2 separate regions of the Homo sapiens genome follow, and region 1 is linked to region 2. The links are contacts of gene promoters, found by promoter capture Hi-C in blood cells and fetal thymus (Javierre and others, 2016). All regions are on one chromosome and are shown on one strand. The core of a region is centred on a gene start or on the middle of the fragment in contact, and the rest is flanking DNA. Distances in the headings are between cores, read along the strand shown. Region 1 has its middle 90 kb from the start of LINC02752. Region 2 holds the start of GALNT18 (polypeptide N-acetylgalactosaminyltransferase 18).

Evidence for each region. Contacts are between HindIII fragments. The CHiCAGO score rates a contact against its expected background, and 5 or more counts as called.
Region 1: a fragment that was not itself captured here is called in contact with the fragment with the promoter of GALNT18 in region 2 in 1 of 17 cell types (M2 macrophages); the score reaches 7.0 in M2 macrophages.

Annotation. Positions count from the first base shown.
Region 1 is chr11:11,022,852-11,026,923 of GRCh38, forward strand. No RefSeq gene overlaps it. Among named protein-coding and RNA genes, the nearest start is that of LINC02752, 90 kb to the right of the region's middle. The HindIII fragment of the contact is 1,024 bases long and covers 1,190-2,213 here.
Region 2 is chr11:11,619,671-11,623,511 of GRCh38, forward strand. GALNT18 (polypeptide N-acetylgalactosaminyltransferase 18) reads right to left here and starts at 2,335. Exons shown (of 11, transcript NM_198516.3): 1 at 1,689-2,335. The coding sequence starts at 1,923. RefSeq lists enhancers at 216-1,185, 638-777, 1,818-1,867, 2,078-2,157, 2,275-2,775 and 1 more and silencers at 1,358-1,427, 1,448-1,527, 2,278-2,637. The HindIII fragment of the contact is 10,916 bases long and covers 1-3,841 here.

The sequences.
Region 1 (4,072 bases), core at 452-2,951, 600 kb before region 2:
TTACTCAATATTTATTGAATGCTTTCTATGCTTTGGTTGGAGATATGCCCCCTGCTAACAAGAAGACCACAGGAGGTGATGGCAAATACGGAAAAACCAACAGTCCTGGGGAACCTTGTTGGAGCACATTTAATCCAGTTGTTGTTGTTGTTACTGAAGTAGAGGAGACAGGCAGATAAGTCTTCCCGATGGAAGTGACACCAAAGCTGAGATCTGAAGGATAGTAAGAGTGTGTTATACTAAAGAGGATGTCTCCTGTGTTCATTCTCCTCTTGGGGTGGATGTAGCTGAGAGAATAAGAGAGCTTTAGAGTCCCAATTGAGGTTACTTTTTATGTGCTGTTAGTGCATTGGTGGCCCCTCCAGCCCTCACCTTGGTAGTTATGACAAATCAGAGAGTGTCCAGCAGATAGTGATCAGGGTGGTGGGAGGACACTTAAAGAAATTGGGAAAAGCTGTGAAACGAAGTGCTTGGTAAGTGGACAGATTCTATTGCATAAGATTAATGCTGCCTATTAATATTAGAAGGTATTAATAGCTGCCATTATGTTAGGTTTTTCATTTAATAGAATGTGTTATACCCACATCAGCAGGGCCGTGTCAGTGTGGGCTGTTGGCCAAGATGTGGGAATGGCATCATTATGTGTACCCAGACACGTAATGGTATTCTGCGTTGGGAATCTACTTCTATGATCTGATATAGGTTGTTAATTAATAAATGTATTACAGAAAAAGATGCCCAGCAGCAAACTGGTTACACTGGAGAATGGTTGGCCCAAATCCAAAGGATGAATGTCCTTTGAACATCATTTCATCCTCTGCTCCCTTTGTAGGCACCTGGAATTAATGCTGAGAAGAACTGATGTTTGCCTTAGCAAGGCATATACAGTGGCTTCAGCAGGCCTGGGCAGGGCCTGCAATTTTCAGACCGAGTGCTGCTGAGTTCAGCACACCATCTCTTAACTTTAAACTGTGTGTCCCTTATCCTTTGCAGCACCCTTGCACTATTGTTTCCCTTATGATATAAAAGTATTTGTGTGTATCCATGTCTTTAGTAACAATGAAAACCCATGAAAGGTAGCCCAAAAGGGGTTGTATGTTTCAAGAAAAATGGCAGAAAGCACAGTTCTTTGTGGGATTAAAAAGTATGTGTATGTATTTAATATAAACCAAGTGTGTCTGCATATAAAAGCTTGTCTACCTCCTTCGTTCATATAGCTCTCTTGGATTTTGTGGGTATTTGCTTCAGGACAGGCAGGAACTGTTCTAGGCAGTGGCCCAGAGCGAGCATTACTAACCTTGACTGTCATTCTGTCCCAGGTGGCATCCCCTCCTCAGATCCCAGCGCTGTCCATATACATGCTGGTCACATTTAAAGGGCCATGGATGGGGCTTAAGGGCAAAGCTCTAATATGTCAACAATTTCTTCTAACGGGATCTTGCTTCTCTTCTTTTGTATAGCTCAAGTCAGAAGTAATGTGATGTTTTATTGGGATGGCCTTGGTGTTTTGTTGTCTACACTTAATTATATCTAAAATAATTTGTTTTCTCTGTGGCCAGCAATGGATCTGTGAATTCACCAGTCTGGGTCCTGCCTCTCAGCCTTTGCCACTTCACAACTGGGGCCGGTGGATTTTCAGCTGCAGGCTTGGTCCTCCAGGCCTGTTTTTAATGGTTATGGTGGGAGGAGATCAAGATAACCCAGGGTTGAGCATTGGACTGTCCTGCTGCCTGGGTACAACTAAGTCTTACCTAGATCTGATGCTGGGTTTCTGCTTTTCCCTTCTGACAAAATGCTAGCCCTTGAGGACTTGCCTTGAGAACCTTCTAGGACTTTATGTTCTACTCCTGTTTAACACTACTGATCATTTCAGCATTCTTCAGGAGCATGGATTTTGAACAAGGAGGCCAGAACAAAGTAAAGAAGTTAGTCTAACCATTAGAATACATTAGACACACCCATTGACCAATGGGGGGCAAGTGCCACTGTATTAGAGAAATTGATGATGTAATATTCAGAGAATAATAAATAGTGCTTCCAGCTTGAATGATGCATAGTCTCTTTTTAGAAGAAAACAATGCTGACAAATAATTTTATTATCATAATTAATTTAAATATACACAGATGCTAAACTAAGTATAATCTTAAAAACATAACCCATGTATAAATTTAAGTATAAGCAATACTGTGTAAACATTAACATTTAACATAAAAGCTTAGACAAGCTTTTATGAATTTATAAAATACAAACAAATCCACAAAATCAATAGAATTAAGATTAATCTTTAATAGGATCAATGATGTTGGTTTGCTAAAACAAAATCATTTCTTGCCATGTGGATATGGTCCTGGGGCTATGGCACAGGTTTGTGTGAGTTGGCCACGACTCTGCTGAATGTGCTGCATGCCGCATGATGACTCAGTGTGTCTTCCATCTTCCTCTATCCTAAATATCATGACACTTTTGTTTCTACAGGATGCTGTGAGGTCATTTGTTCCTCACTTGTCAATGATCACATTGTTTGTGTTGAAGTCCATCACACTCATTTTTCACTAGTCTGAGAGAATTAAAGCAGTTCTATTTGACCCTTATGCTGTCATAAACACAAATCTACATGTGGACATAGAAATTCTGTGGTTTGAGTTGGTCATTCAGTTGACCCACAAGATATGAATATTGATTATTTTTATATTTTCATCAATATGAAAACAAATTAAAAAAACAATATCAGAATCTCATGAACTCAGAGAAAATGTCCAGTGGGCTTAGTTTGAGAAATACTGGCATGAAAAGCCCAATGGCATGACTAGCTCCCTGATATGGGGCAGGAATTGAGGGAAAGATCAGGGGCTTAAATTGCCAGAGGGTGACAAAATCAGTTTCTACCTGCTGTAATCTATATCCCAGCAAAGTTGGTCTGTTCTCAGATTTACTGGCAAACTGAGGCAACTTAATTGCTCATTCGCGTTCTGCTCTTCAACTATTATTCTGTATCTGGTATGGTGCTGCCATGCCTCTCTGATAGTGACCACTTGCCGTCCTGCCCAGTGGTAGGCTTAGGAATTAGGGGTCTAATCTGGCTGCTCATTGTCCAGAAGCACAGACTGGAAACTCTAGTCTGAAAAATGTTTATGCTATTCTAATATTTGAGTGTGTATCTGTATCATCAGGAGAATTTTAGATAATAGCCATTAGGAGGTCCCAAGAGAATGGCCTATATTTCTAGTTGTAAAGGGTCTTTTGGAGTAAAGAAGGAACACTGACCAAGGAAACGTTCAGACAACTACAAGGAATCCATGAGCTTGGTTGCCTTTTACAGGAGGGGCAGATAAAAAGGATATGGGCTGTAACTGGCTTTGATAACGCCCCAACCCAATGAAGAATTTTGAGTTGTTAAAACATGTTGTTTCTAGACTCCAAACACTGACCCACTTGGGAGAAAATGAGGCAGCATGGTACCAGATCTGTGGGATCTGTTCCCAAAATCCTATTGACAGGCTTGGTCCACTTGCAGGTCACCCTCCATGGTCTTTGGTCAACTTTTCTGTGGTCATCATAGCTTGATGGGACTTTCTCTGGCAGTTGTCCCATTCAAACCAGTTGTCCACAGCCTTGCCTGCTTCAAGAGTCCAAGGACCAAACCTCAAGGAGTACCTCAGATTGTTCCCCAAGTGCTGCCACTGACCTCATTTGGACTGACGATGCACTTAACAATTTGACTTTCCACTCTTATTTTTCCTGAAACTCAATACTCCCAATTGAGTTCTACTAGCTGTATTTGTGAAAAGTAATCACAAACATTTTTTTAGAATACAGTGAAATGTGAAGGAATGATTTATTGTGTACATGCATATGGCAGAATATGTGTAAGTGGTTATAGATCAGTTCTGGAATTAGACAGGCCTGAGTTTTAACTTAATCTTGCCACATAGGAGCTGTATGAACTTAGACAAATTACTTAATCTAAGATGTAGTTTTCTTATTCATAAACATGGATCATAATAACACCTATTTCATAGCGTTATTGAGAGGACTAAACGGGATAGCACAGTGTCTGGCACATAATTGGCA
Region 2 (3,841 bases), core at 1,085-3,584:
CATGGCTTTGTGTCTCCTGGGGAACATTCTGAATCACCCTGGGGGAAACACTGTACTTCTATTGCTGATTAATAGTCAATCAAGACCTATGGGATGGAAAAGGACACGTAAGAAATAACAGCAACTGGCACCCACAGATAGGTAAATTGGTTTTCAAGCCCAGTGCCAGGTTGAGAGGCAGAGGCAGGTCTGAAGAAGAAGCTGTCAATGTCCCTCTTTTCTGGGAAGGTGCCGAAGCCATGGGCTTGTTTTGAAGTCATTAGTCAGGAAGCACTATGGATGTGGATGCCTCTCCTGCACTCACCTGAACCTCCCTGAACCTTCCCCTCCTGGAAAGGAACTATTCTGGACACCTGGGGAAACACCAAATTCAGACGGAGGAGCCATCTCTACTCTGGCAAGAGCAGCAGGTGCAAGGATTGGAATTCAGACATCCACGTGTAAACAAAAGGGAGTGCTCCTGGCGGGGGGGTGGGGGGTAAGCCTTCAGTTCAATTCGATTTTGCCAAGGTCTGCCATGCACTGGCCCCTGAGCCTGGTGGGCCTGCTAGGTTTACAGGGGAACCAAGCTCGGCCCTGCCCTTAAGAAGCTCACACACCTGGAAGAAAGCAGGGGGCGCGGGGAGGGGAGGAAGTGTGGACGTGAGCGCGCGCGCGCGCGCGTGTGTGTGTGTGTGTGCACACCCGGCACCAGTGCTCCTGGCGCCCGGAACTCCATTCCCTCCCATGACAGCTCATTGACCAGGTCGCCTCGGGAGAGCGCCCTGCAACCCCCACCCTCCCTTTGGACCCCCGCGCTGGTCTGGAGCGCACCCAACCAGCGTAACCTTACACTTCAGACCCAACCCAGGTCTGCTCAGCCCCGGCTGCTCCCAGGGCCTGAGAGTGGAGCTACAGTAGGGATCGGCCTTCACCCGGTCCCGGGCGGCTCCGCGGGGAAGGCGCAGCCCAGGGCGTGTTCTTCCAGTCTTGGGCGGAGTCATCACCACAGTGGACAGAGACTCCAGCGCTACTTCCCGGCGTTGACACCTGCTCCTGGAGAGGGTCCTGGACCCGCGGGCTGTGGTGGGGGTAGGGACTGCTATAGGTTCAAGCGGCTTTTCAACCACAGAGGGCTCCTTGCATTCCCTATCGCCTACCAACGGGATCACAGCAAGACTGGGGCTGGGGCTGATACAACGCAATTTTCCTAGCCTCGCTTGTCCGGCAGCCTGCGGGTCTTAACTGCCAATAGTCAGGGCCGCCGCGCGGGCATCTCGCCTGACGCCTACAGTGGCCAAAAAAGCTCGTTTGCCCGCGCGTTCCCTCTTGTACACACACAGACATTCACATGCACACACACTCTGAGCCGGACTTGTGTGCGATCCCGAGAGCCCGCGAGCAACCAGCCCAGAGTCACACGCACATTTGGACACGTGCGCAGCGCGCCCCCATACCGCCAGCTAGCTGCACACATCCGCTCGTGCAGCCCTGCGCACACACGTGTGCCCCGGGGAAGAGCGCACGGCCGCAGACAGAAGGTCCCGAACGCAGGCAGGAGCTCACACGCAGGCCCCACGACTACCACGCATCTGCGGCCCCAGAGCCCCGCCGTGGCTGAGTTGATGCGCACCAGCCCCAGCGCACCCCGCGCCGCGCGGGGCACTCCCGGGCCTCATGGGCGACCCAAGTTTCCGGGGCGCCCGTACCTTGAATGTGCTGCTTGATGACATTCTCCAGGTGGTCCAGCCGCTCAATAATCTTCAGAGTGTCCCCTTTGTCTTCCTCCAGCTTCTTGTCGGGCGCCGGCTCCTGCCCCCGCACATACACGCTGGCGATGTAGTTGGTGACCCAGCCCACGTAGAGCAGGCAGATGATGTTAGTCATGCCGCTCAGGATCACGCAAGTGGACACCAAAGTTTTGGTCTTCCTGGTGCACACCATTCTGGGCTCCTTCCTCCATATAGAGCTCCCGGGGGCCCTTCCTTGTCGTGCGCCCCGAACTCCCCCGCGCTCGCACCCCGTAGCACGTCCGGAGCCGCTGGGCACCTCAGCACCTGAGTCCCGAGGTTCTCCAAAGCCCGGTCCGCTGCCGGTGTAGCCGCCGTGCCCAAGTTTGCAGCTCCTGCCGCTGGCCACCCGGAGAGACCTTGACAAAGGAAACCAGGTGGATTTTTTTCCAAATTAAAAATCCCTGAACCCTTCCTAGAGGGGTCACGGGTAGCCGGCAGCCGCGCGTCCAGATGTGTACGTCTGGGAAACTTTGCCACTGCCTGTGTCGGCGGCCACGCCGCTTCCCATCGCCAGCGCCGGCTGCCTTGGCGGTCCGACCGGCCCGCGCTGCTAGGAGAACAGCGGCAGCGGCAGCGGCGGCGGGGAGAGCCGCGAAGCAGAGCGGCCCGGCCCCCTCCGAGCGACAAGCGCTGCCACCAATCGCGCTCCGGCTCGGGAGAGGGGCCGGTGCTGAGCGGCAGCGGACCAACGGGGAGGGAGCGGGGGGCGGAGTCCAGCTCCCAGGCCCCACCTGCTGGCCGCCCCTGGCTCCCGCCCCCAGGGACGCGCCCGGGCCTCCACCCGCGCCTGCACAGGCTGCCCCAGACCTGAAGCTCCCGGAGAGGGCGCGCTGCCAGTCCCAGCCCTTAGGTCGGCAGCTTCCTCCGTTAGGGGAATTCCATCTCTTGCTCTTGGGCAGGAATCTCCTGGTTTTGTGGAGGGGGTGGGGGGTTCGCACGGGTCAGCTTCTTTCATCCGCCCGGGGCTTCTCGCATTGGTGCCACCAGTCGACTCCTGGAATCTTTTCTTGGTTGCCAGGACGCTGAGAAGCCAAGGAAGTGCCAGCCCCAGCGGCATCCACTCCTTCCTTGGCCTCACTTGGGCCTCCACCCTGCCCTCTGCCCTTCAGCCACCGGCCTCCTGAGTGTGTCCAGACCTGGCCCTAAACCTGGCTGAAAGGAGCCAACCCTCCGGCAACCTCCCAGAAGCAACATTGGTGACCTATTAGATGACTCTCTCGACCACTTCTTCCCCCCCCCCACCCCCCACCCCCCACCCCCACCGCCTGCCCCAATTTTTGCCCCTATCTAGGTTTTTCTTTAAGTCTGTACAGCTCCCAGGACATGGATGTGTCCTTTAAGCCCAGTTTTCATTTATGTGGAACCAGGGTCATCCAGTGCATAAAGAAACCCTGCAAGGAAGTGCCGCTGAGGGGAACTGAGGTCTGTGAACTGTAAAGCCCTTCTACATGTTGTTTATGATTGCTATCATAGAGGGCGGTGGGAGAGACCTGTGACTGAGCACAGGAGGAGGCCAGACGCAGACAGTGATACTGCTGTGTTTGTTCTTACTGCCAATGTTTACTCATATTATCCTCTTCTGCTGAACACCCCGTTCTCAGCACCTGAACGGAATTCCTTTAAACAAAGACTTTTTACAACATAGATTTCCTGCCTCTTCTCCATCTCTGAGTTGCTTTATTTTTTTGGCCTAAGCCAGGGAGGCAGCCTGCTGCATGCCCACTTTGTTGTGTGCCAGCCTTCCAACCAGCCACAGAAATACTCAGGGCAGCTCCATCCTGGGATATCTTCTGGATTCAAATGACTGGCCCCACAAGAGAGGGAGAGCACAAAACCAAAGAAAGGGCACTTTATGGCCCCATCAGCCAAGGGCCCTTCTACCAATGCTTTGTTTACAAAACCTCCCCAAAGATGCTATGAAAACAGATACCAACTAGGGACCCGGGAAGATTTCCCTTGATCCATAGCTGGAAGAGAGAACAGTGGGTGTGGGTTGGCGTGGGCTGGGGTATAGAAGGGGGAGAAGAATCGTGTGTATGGTATGTAGGAGATACATACATGAGAGGAGA